Linked DNA regions of Homo sapiens: all the other regions are linked to region 2. Evidence: promoter capture Hi-C in 16 types of primary human blood cells and fetal thymus (Javierre and others, 2016). All regions are on one chromosome and are shown on one strand. Each heading gives the region's core, a stretch centred on a gene start or on the middle of the fragment in contact. The rest is flanking DNA. Distances are from core to core; before and after follow the strand shown. Region 1 overlaps M1AP (meiosis 1 associated protein). Region 2 holds the start of MOGS (mannosyl-oligosaccharide glucosidase). Region 3 overlaps SLC4A5 (solute carrier family 4 member 5).

What was found. Contacts are between HindIII fragments. The CHiCAGO score rates a contact against its expected background, and 5 or more counts as called.
Region 1: a contact is called between a fragment that was not itself captured here and the fragment with the promoter of MOGS in region 2, in 1 of 17 cell types (total B cells). The highest score is 5.7, in total B cells.
Region 3: a contact is called between a fragment that was not itself captured here and the fragment with the promoter of MOGS in region 2, in 1 of 17 cell types (M2 macrophages). The highest score is 5.3, in M2 macrophages.

What each region holds. Positions count from the first base shown.
Region 1 is chr2:74,615,011-74,618,386 of GRCh38, forward strand. It overlaps M1AP (meiosis 1 associated protein), which reads right to left. Exons shown (of 11, transcript NM_001321739.2): 3 at 1-139. Among named protein-coding and RNA genes, the nearest start is that of M1AP, 32 kb to the right of the region's middle. The HindIII fragment of the contact is 1,812 bases long and covers 529-2,340 here.
Region 2 is chr2:74,463,950-74,467,092 of GRCh38, forward strand. It overlaps MOGS (mannosyl-oligosaccharide glucosidase), which reads right to left and starts at 1,433. Exons shown (of 4, transcript NM_006302.3): 1 at 947-1,433; 2 at 547-773. The coding sequence starts at 1,298. RefSeq lists a silencer at 1,000-1,219. The HindIII fragment of the contact is 14,256 bases long and covers 1-3,143 here.
Region 3 is chr2:74,236,613-74,239,764 of GRCh38, forward strand. It overlaps SLC4A5 (solute carrier family 4 member 5), which reads right to left. Exons shown (of 31, transcript NM_133478.3): 21 at 2,723-2,923. Among named protein-coding and RNA genes, the nearest start is that of MTHFD2, 40 kb to the left of the region's middle. The HindIII fragment of the contact is 1,210 bases long and covers 919-2,128 here.

The sequences.
Region 1 (3,376 bases), core at 185-2,684, 150 kb after region 2:
TGTATTGTTTGAATTGCTGGAGCCCATCCTCTACTGCCAGCCGCAGAGAAGCACCTTGTGATCTGAAACACCCTTCTCTCTGTAACATGCGGAGTTCTGAGATGCAGGTCTGCAACCTAGCAAAGTTCCCTTTCACTTGCTGCAGAGAAAAACGAATCAAAGACACAAGTCTTTAGGGACCAGGTTTCAGATTAATTGGCAGTCTAAATTTATTATAAATAATTCCTCAGAAGTTCCTTCCCTTCCTGAAAATTTATTTGACCAACATCTACTGAATTCCTATTGTGTTCTAGCCACTGCACCAAAATCTTCCCTACACTAGCAGAAGGAAAATTTGCAGCCATAAAGGTTTTGATTACTTAGAGTTACCAGAAACATGAAAGGAAGTGTTTTAACTCATTCACTCACACAAAGGGAAATCCAGTTGTGTGACTGCTTAGTTTTACTTTGGGGTGACCTGCAAACTGGAGGCCAGACAGTGTTCACCTTAGACATCATCTTCATTTCTTAGTCAGTCTAGGCACCAAAAGCTTCTCTACTTAAAAATGAGGTTTTCCCAGAAGTGAGAATTTTGATGTGGTTGATCACTTCAGAATTCATACGTCCTATCTAATACGCTCTTTAGGATAACTTCAGTAAAGAAGAGATATTTGGGTTAGTCTGCAGTCAGCTTAAGGAGCCAACATGTTAAACCGAGACAAGCGACCTTTTGGTTCTCCTCATCTACCTTTATAAAAACTTGCTCTTAGGAGTCAACTAATTTAATCTGATACTAGGTCAATGTTACTTCTCCTAAGGATATATGCATTTTGATAAATGTGGACTGAAGATTTGTGACATCATTTGAAGGGATTCCATGCATCAATAGCAGGTGGGGGGTGGGGAAGAATTATATTTTGGGATGGGGACACCTTCCTGACCATAGAGCAGAACTGAGTGATATCTGTAATGCACATAAAATCCATGAGCATGAGCTGTAAACCTGCCAGAATACAAAGACTGCTTAAGTCAACACCTTCCTGGGCTTAGCTCCACAGTTGATATATTCTTCTCTCCCCAAGTCTTTGGGGTGAAAACACAAGGAATTGCATATAATTCTTACACAAAGAAAACTTGTAATCTAGAAAGGAAAATAAGAAAACTATCCGAGAAAGAAATTAGAAGAAATCACACCACAGGTGTAGCCTAGTAGGCTTTAAGCATTTCTTCTCATGTACCCACTAAAAGAATCTGAGAAACAATGTACCCCCTTATGCATTTTTAAGTGAACATCTATATTTTAAAATTCCAACTTTATAAGTGGTTGCTAACGATGTAACTTCCTGCATATTTTAAATATCAACATTTAAAAATAAAACTATAATATAACTCTTCAAAACAGTCCAATTGAATCTAAATGCCATGGTGATTTGATACTCACCATTATTCAGTGTTAAAAGTACATGAACAAGCTCTTTTTTTCCCAAGAGATAGAAATTTAGATTGTTCCTTTTTCTCCTTGAACTCATATTTCCATTTCACTTTCCCTGAGAGTTTTATCATAATGTAAAAGAATTTTTATGCTTGGCAACCTTTTATTGATCATCCCATCATACTTCTCTGCATCTAAAACAGCTATATTTTGCAAGAGTTCTAAGTTTCCTATGAGCATAGGCTCTAAGGGGCACTCTAGATTGAGTTATTATTAGAATTATCATTCATATACAATTTATTAAAACAACATGTATATACAAATTTTGAGAAATAATTATTGGCATTAAGCATAGCTTTAATTGGAAATGTTTCTCTTAATAATTGGAAATATTCCTCTTAATGGCATGGACAAGCTGGGCTCTTCTTTCAATTAGCTCAGGTTTGTGTGAATAAATAAAATAATTACTGATCGAATGACACAACATTCAGTATCAATTTTTATTCCTATTTTATTTATTTGGTGGCCAACATGGGTTGAGTTTATTGCATCATTATAAACAGAGAAAAATCTTGTTTTCTCTTGACCAGATACCCAAAAGGCTATAAAAGAAATGTAACTTAACTCCAATTTGAGAATATGTACTAAAAATTTTAAGCCTCACCTTGGTATTTTAAAAGACTAAATGTGATACCCTACAAGGCATTTTGATGTCACAAATTCATTCTATTACATTTTATATACAAAAATGCTACACCATTGTTCTAATTATGTGTCTGCAGTTGTACTACAACTATAGGACAGACACAGAATGATTCAAAATAGCTGGAATCTAAGCCTTACTTCTCAGTGATCAGGGCAGTCCAGCCTGGTGATGTCATATAGGGTGTCATTAGATGACACCCAGAACCAGCCACAACTTCGGACTAAGCTTGTTTGTGTCTACAATTGTGATGACATATTACTATGGATTTAACAATAAAAATTCCAAGCTAACGCAGGAACAGAAAACCAAATACTGCATGTTCTGACTTATAAGTGCGAGCTAAATGATGAGAACACATGGACACATAAAAAGGGACAACACACACTGGGGCCTGTCAGAGGGTGGAGTGTGGGAGGAGGGAGAGGATCAGAAAAAATAACTAATGGGTAGTAGGCTTAATACCTGGATGATGAAATAATCTGTACAACAAACCCCCATGACACAAGTTTACTTATGTACCTGCACATGCACCCTTGAACTTAAAATAAAAGTTAAAAAAATTCATACCATTTGTTTTAAGAGTGTCTGGGAAAAAATAAGCAATTATTCCATTTTGTGCCCTTCTCATGTTTTAAAATAAGCAATGTTCTATATTTCTATTATCGAAGGTTCAGAAGTAAAAACATTATAATAAATATACAAATCCTTGAAAACTCTTAGCATTTCTAGTGTTTAATACTCCCACTTCTTTGGCAATGCCGAATCTGCAAACTGACTGCTTAGTCTGTGCACATGTCAACTATGGAGAATGTGCATGTCCTGTGAATTTCAAATGGTTCTCTGGAGTAAAGCAAGAGATTGACCCATATTTTAAAGGTAACAGCAAACGTTTAACCTTAGGAACCAAGGACTCAAATTTGAAGCTACAGTCTTATTCTGATTAGCTTCTATGATGATATGGTTGGGGGGAATTTAGTAGCAAGTGAAGGTCAGGAGAAGATGTGGTACAAGGAAGGCAAGTGGGTAAGTGATATCAAGTGAGAGATGGGTGAAGGAATTCCATGATCACAGATGTAATCAGCAGCCACAGCAATGGACCTGTCTGCCCTGCTCTGCAGAGACCTCAGATGGAGCTCCCACCCCACATGCAGACAGTTCACCCCAGGCCAAGAGTGCTCAGCGTGCAGGGCCATGTCCTCCCACCAGACACCACCTGTACCTGTCAAGTGCCACCAATTTAAACTGAAAATACAAGTCAG
Region 2 (3,143 bases), core at 183-2,682:
ACCGCGCCTGGCTTTTTTTTTTTTCTTGAGATGGAGTTTTGCTCTTGTTGCCCAGGCTGGAGTGCAATGGCACGATCTCGGCTCAGCGCAACCTCCACCTCCCTGGTTCAAGCAATTCTCCTGCCTCAGCCTCCCAAGTAGCTTGGATCACAGGCATGCGCCACCACGCCCGGCTAATTTTATATTTTCAGTAGAGACGGTGTTTCTCCATTTTGGTCAGGCTGGTCTGGAACTCCTGACCTCAGGTGATCCGCCAGCCTCGGCCTCCCAAAGTACTGGGATTACAGGCGTGAGCCACCGCGCCCAGCCTCTTTTTCATTTAATTCTTACAGTCCTGTGAGTTAAGTGCTATTATTATCTACATTGTACATTTTACAAGCAAGGAAATCAAGGCTTAGAGATGGTAAATAGAAATGGTTATACAGGCAGTTGTTTAAGGCAGGATTTAAGCCAGGCAGCCAGAGCCCACTTCATGCTGCATTTGCTGGCAGCAAGGGAAGGATGGAGGGGGTCTGGGCTGAGAAAAGGGTGTCCTGAGGCCCTGACCTGAGGCTCTACAGTCACTCTCCAGCTCCAGTCCCCTCCGTGCTGACCCCCAGGCCTCTTGACGAACTCAGTGGTGAGCCTTAAGGCCCCATCCTGGATGTGTTGGCGCCCGAAGGAGAGGCCGTCGTGGAACTCCCAGCCATAGGGACCCACACCGTCCCCCTGCTCACACGTGTGCCTGAGCTTAGGAGTCCCCGGGGTGGTGCCCTGCTGCGCCCACATCAGTCCTGGGGGTAGAATGGCCACGTAAGTCAAAGAGCAGGGGACCTGTCCCTCCGGGTCTCCGGGTCATCCCTCTTCATAACTCTCCTGATCCATTCCTTCCCACCCTTGCTCTCGCTTCAAGCTGGGGCGCCCAGATTAGGAGTCCGCCTGCCTGCCCGCCCTGGGGCCCGGTTACCGGTGAGGAGGGGCTTCGGGCTGCGGGTCTTCATGCCGAAGTAGACGTGAGGGCGGTAGGTTCCCCAGAAGAGGTCCGGGGCCACGGCGGGGCTGGAGGAGTCGGCAGGCAACACAGGAGGCGCGGAGTGCAGCGTGACCGCCCGCCGCGCACGGTACCACGCCAGCACCCAGCGCCCCGACATACCCAGGGCCAAAGACAGGACCACGACGGCCAGAGCCACTCCTCCAGCCGTGCTACGCGGCCCGCCGCCCCGGCCGTCCCGTCGCCCGGGGCCTCCCCGAGCCGCCCTCTCGGCTGTCCGCACTCCCTCTGCCGGCACTGCGCGGCGCCGCCGCTCGCCCCGAGCCATCCTGGCACTGAGGTCCGCGTCACAAGAGCTCGGAGAGGCGGCAGTGGAGCCCGGGTCCTGCCTCACCTCTCCGGCTCCCGCCTCTCGCCCTGGCGACCACCGTCCGGTTAGCGACACCTGCCAGCCAGCGCCTGCGCCTCCGCCTCCGCCTCCCGCCGGAAGTCCCGCCCCGCCACGTTAGGTTAAGTCCCAGAGTCCGGAACCGCTGCCTGCGGCTTGACACAGGGTTGGTACGTAGCGTCTGTCCTGGGCGTTGGTCCACCGGGATTGCGTTTATCTGGCGACCCCATGGAGTTCACAGGCTCGGAAAAACCAATCTAACGTTGGGCTGAGGCATGAGAATCGTTTGAACCCGGGAGGCGGAGGTTGCAGTGAGCCGAGATTGTGCCACTGCACTCCAGCCTGGGCGACAGAGCGAGACTTCGTCTCAAAAAAAAAAAAAAAAGACTGATGTGGCCAGGCACCGAGGCGCACATCTGTAATCCCAGCACTTTGGGAGGCCGAGGCAGGTGGATCACCAGACATGAGGAGTTGGAGACCAGCCTGGTCAACTTGGTGAAACCCCATCTCTACTAAAAATACAAAAATTAGCCGGGTGTGGTGGTGGGTGCCTGTAATCCCAGCTATTCGGGAGGCTGAGGCAGGAGAATTGCTTGAACCTGGGAGGCGGAGGTTGCAGTGAGCCGATATTGCGCCATTGCACTCCAGCTTGGGCAACAAGAGTGAAACTGTTTCAAAAAAAAAGAAAGAGAGAGAGAGAGAGAGATGGAGGGAGGGAGGGAGGGACGGAGGGAGAGAGAGAGAGAGAGAGAGAGACTGATGCTTTATGCAACACGACCACTTATATTTCACTATAATCTGACTGGTGGCCCCACTCTCCACTAGTGGTAGACTTTTTGCTTATGAAATCATCTGACCAAACCCAATGGTTAGTCCTGTTTTTGTCTTTCTTGCTACCGTTGCATTTGTCGACATCCTTATTGTAGCACTTATTACATACCTGTTTCATTTTTCATCTTTGTATCACAGTACTAATCAATTATAGGCATAAGGCAGATGCTAAATATTTATAAATTCAACACATGTTTATTGTACACCCTATATCGCATTATGCAAGGTGCTGGGGACTCAGAGAAAATGGCCCCAACCTCAAGTTCACAGTCTAGAAGCACAATGCCAGCACTCAATGCATGTTGAACCATACCCATTTTTTTTTTTTTTTTTTTTTTGAGACGGAGTCTCGCTCTGTCACCAGGCTGGAGTGCAATGGCATGATCTCGGCTCACTGCAACCTCTGCCTCCAGGGTTCAAGTGATTCTCCTGCCTCAGCCTCACGAGTAGCTGGGATTACAGGTGCCCACCACCACGCCCAGCTAATTTTTGTATTTTTAGTAGAGATGGAGTTTCACCAGGTTTGCCAGGCTGGTCTCGAACTCCTGACCTCAGGTGATCCACCCACCTCGGCCTCCCAAAGTGCTGGGATTACAGGCGTGAGCCACCGCGCCTGGCCAGACCACCCCCATTTTTACAGATGAGGAGAGTAGTTAAGACTGACCCAAAATAACAGCCAGTTAATTATGGAGCTGGGGAACTCAAATCCAGGTTGTTCTTTTGACTTTAGAATAAGGCCTCTTAGGGCAGGCGCAGTGGCTCAAGCCTGTAGTCCCAGCACTTTGGGAGGCAAAGGCGGGCGGATCACCTGAGGCTGGGAGTTCGAGACCAGCCTGACCGACATGGAGAAACCCCGTCTCTACTAAAAAATACAAAATTATCTGGGCATGGTGGTGCATGCCTGTAATCCCAGCTACTCGTGACACTGAGGCAGGAGAATCACTTGAACCCGGG
Region 3 (3,152 bases), core at 274-2,773, 230 kb before region 2:
TCATGATCATATAAATATTAGTCACAGCAGAACCAAGTAGTGTGCTGGGTTTATACTTCCTTTTCTATAATATTCCTAGCATATACATCAAAACCATATGAATGCTTATTAAGTTAAACCACATGAACTTGACTTTTTTTGTAGGTTGAAACAGTCAAATATGGGCAACTTCATATGGTCCAACCTAATCAGAGAGTGTCAGTTGCTCTCCAAATTGGATGTATCTGTCTACATTCCCACCTACTGCTTTCCATCTCCAACATCTGGTGTCCCAAGACCTTCATCTGTCTACCAATCTGATGAGTATAAAATGGTGTGGCCTCATTCCTCTCTGCAACCGGAAATTCCAGAAGGCAACTGAGCAATTTTTTTTTTTTTTTTTGAGACAGAGTCTCTCTCTGTCGCCCAGGCTGGAGTGCAGTGGCGCAATCTTTGCTCACGGCAAGCTCTGCCTCCCGGGTTCATGCCATTCTCCTGCCTCAGCCTCCCAAGTAGCTGGGACTACAGGCGCCCACCACAACGCCCGGCCAATTTTTTGTATTTTTAGTAGAGACGGGGATTCACCATGTTAGCCAGGATGGTCTCGATCTCCTGCCTTCGTGATCCGCCTGCCTGGGCCTCCCAAAGTGCTGGGATTACAGGCGTGAGCCACTGTGCCTGGCCCAACTGAGCAATTTTTAAGTAATGTGACGGAAAAAATGTTGTTGGCACAAGAATTTCATGCCACATGAATTACTTTTCATCCTGTAGGCAACAGATAGATACTCTCAGATACAGTGACTGCTTGAGAATTTTTACATAAGAGGAGATTGAGGGATGTGCTCTGGACTGGAAGTGGGCAGGAAGGAAGAGAACTTGTCTTGATGGTGCATTTGTGTTGTAAGCAAACTATTTTTTTACTCAGTTTATATACTGTGAAGCTTCCTAAAGCACCTTTTATTTAGTCTTTAGAAAATCTGGGAAAAATTCAACTATTTATTTCAAAGATTTTATCATTATGATTAGTAGCAGTAGCAGCTGTAATACTTAGTTAAGATGGCTTTAGGAGACTGCTAATGGAGTTTACGGTGGGAAAGAGTTGCTTAAATTCTTCCGAGTACCCCCCACCCCACGGCACAGTTACTGCTTATGTATGCAAGTGCTGTTTTCATAAATCTTTTATTCCAGCCACAAACAGGTAGAAAATAAAATTTAAAACAGCAGTTAGGGCTGGGTGCGGTGGCTCACACCTGTAATCCCAGCACTTTGGGAGGCTGAGGTGGGGGGATCACCTGAGGTAAGGAGTTCAAGACCAGCCTGGCCAGCATGGTGAAACCCCGTCTCAACTAAAATTACAAAAATTAGCCGGGTGTGGTGGCAGGCGCCTGTAGTCCCAGCTATTTGGGAGGCTGAGGCAGGAGAATCACTTGAACCCGGGAGGCGGAGGTTGCAGTGAGCCGAGATCATGCCATTTCACTCCCACCTGGGTGACAGAGTGAGACTCTGTCTCAAAAATAATAATAATAATAAAATAATAATAACATAGCAGTTAGCATTTACGACGGTATAAAAAAATCAAGTACCTAGGAATAACTCTAACAAAAAATGTTCAAGACTTAAAGATCAAAATGTATAAAACATTATGGAGAGAAAGAAGACCAAAATAAATGAAGTATACTGTATTCATAAATCAGAAAAACTCAAAATTTGAAAGACGTTAATTCTTCCCAAACAGAGGCAAAGATAATCCCATCAAAATTCCAACAAGTTTTCATTTTGGTGAAATTTAAGATGATTCTAAAATTCATGTGGAAATGCAAAGGGCCAAGAAAATATTATATAAAAAGGACAAAAGGGGAGAGCTTGGGAGACAAAGATATAAAGACTTATAAGCTACAGAAATGAAGACTGTGATACTGATATATAAATAAACTAGTGAAACAGAATAAAGAACCCAGAAACAGACCCTGTCATATAGGAATATTTGATATATGGCAAAGGAAGTATTGCAAAGCAATGGAGAAAGAATAGTCTTTAAAAAATACTGGAACAATTGACTATATAAAATCACAAAGAAACACTGTCTCACAGTACACATCAGAATCAATTCTGATGGATTGTAGATCTAACATGAAAGGAAAAACAATGAAGCTTTTAGAAGGTAACATACAAGAATATCTGCTGTCCAATATTTGCCTTGAGGAAAGTTTGATATATTCAATTACAATAAAACTAAGAATTTCTGTTAATCAAAAGATGCCATTAAGGATGTAAAAAGAAAAAAACAGTCACAGAGTGGGAGAAGATTTTGCAACACATATAATCACAAAAACATTTCTACCCAGAATATATAACAAACTCTTGCAAATCAGAAAGGCAGACAACCCAAAATGTGCAAGAGATTTCAACAGACACTTCCAAAAAGAAAGGCAATTGGGCATGTGGCCAATAAACACAGGAATAGCTGTATTTTCAACTTCATTAGTCATCAGGGAAATGAAAAATTTAAAAAACACAATGAGATACTACTATAGACAAAGACTAAAGATAAAAGCCTGACAATACCAAGTGTTGTCAAGGGGACCAGCCAACAAGGGAACACAGTTCTCTCTGACTTAACTTGAAAAACCCCAGTGGGCCAGTGCTCGCATGGAGTCCATCCTGTCGGTGGACCAGAACCCTCTCTGGGGGACTCAGCAGCTGTCTGACTGCAGGTCCCCTCCTAACTGCAGGGTGAGCTTACCTTGGTAGGAAAATAGCGGCTGAATTTGAACTTCTTCAGGGTCAGGGTCATGGAGTATGTCCCAAAGAAAAGGATGAAGGACATGAGCGCCAGGTCTGGGATAAACTTGCAGGAATTCCCAAGCAGGCGCCCGCCGTAGCTCAGACACTCCTTCTTGCTCAGCAGGGACCAGTCCAACGCTGTGAGGTTAAGGAGGTTGTACTTGGAGACCAAGCACAGGAGAGAATGGGTCAGCATCTTCCTGATGAGTCAGCTGTGTCCTTCCCACTGCAGTCCCCAGGCAGCCAGCATACCTTCCCACCCTCTGAGGGACCCCAGCCCCCCAGAGTGATGTTCCTGGGGACGGGCTGGTTCAAGGAATGACAAGCTCCCTAGGAAGATTAGGAGCTCACATGTGTTTCTTCATTGTGTTCTAGGATGCACTGCTGTG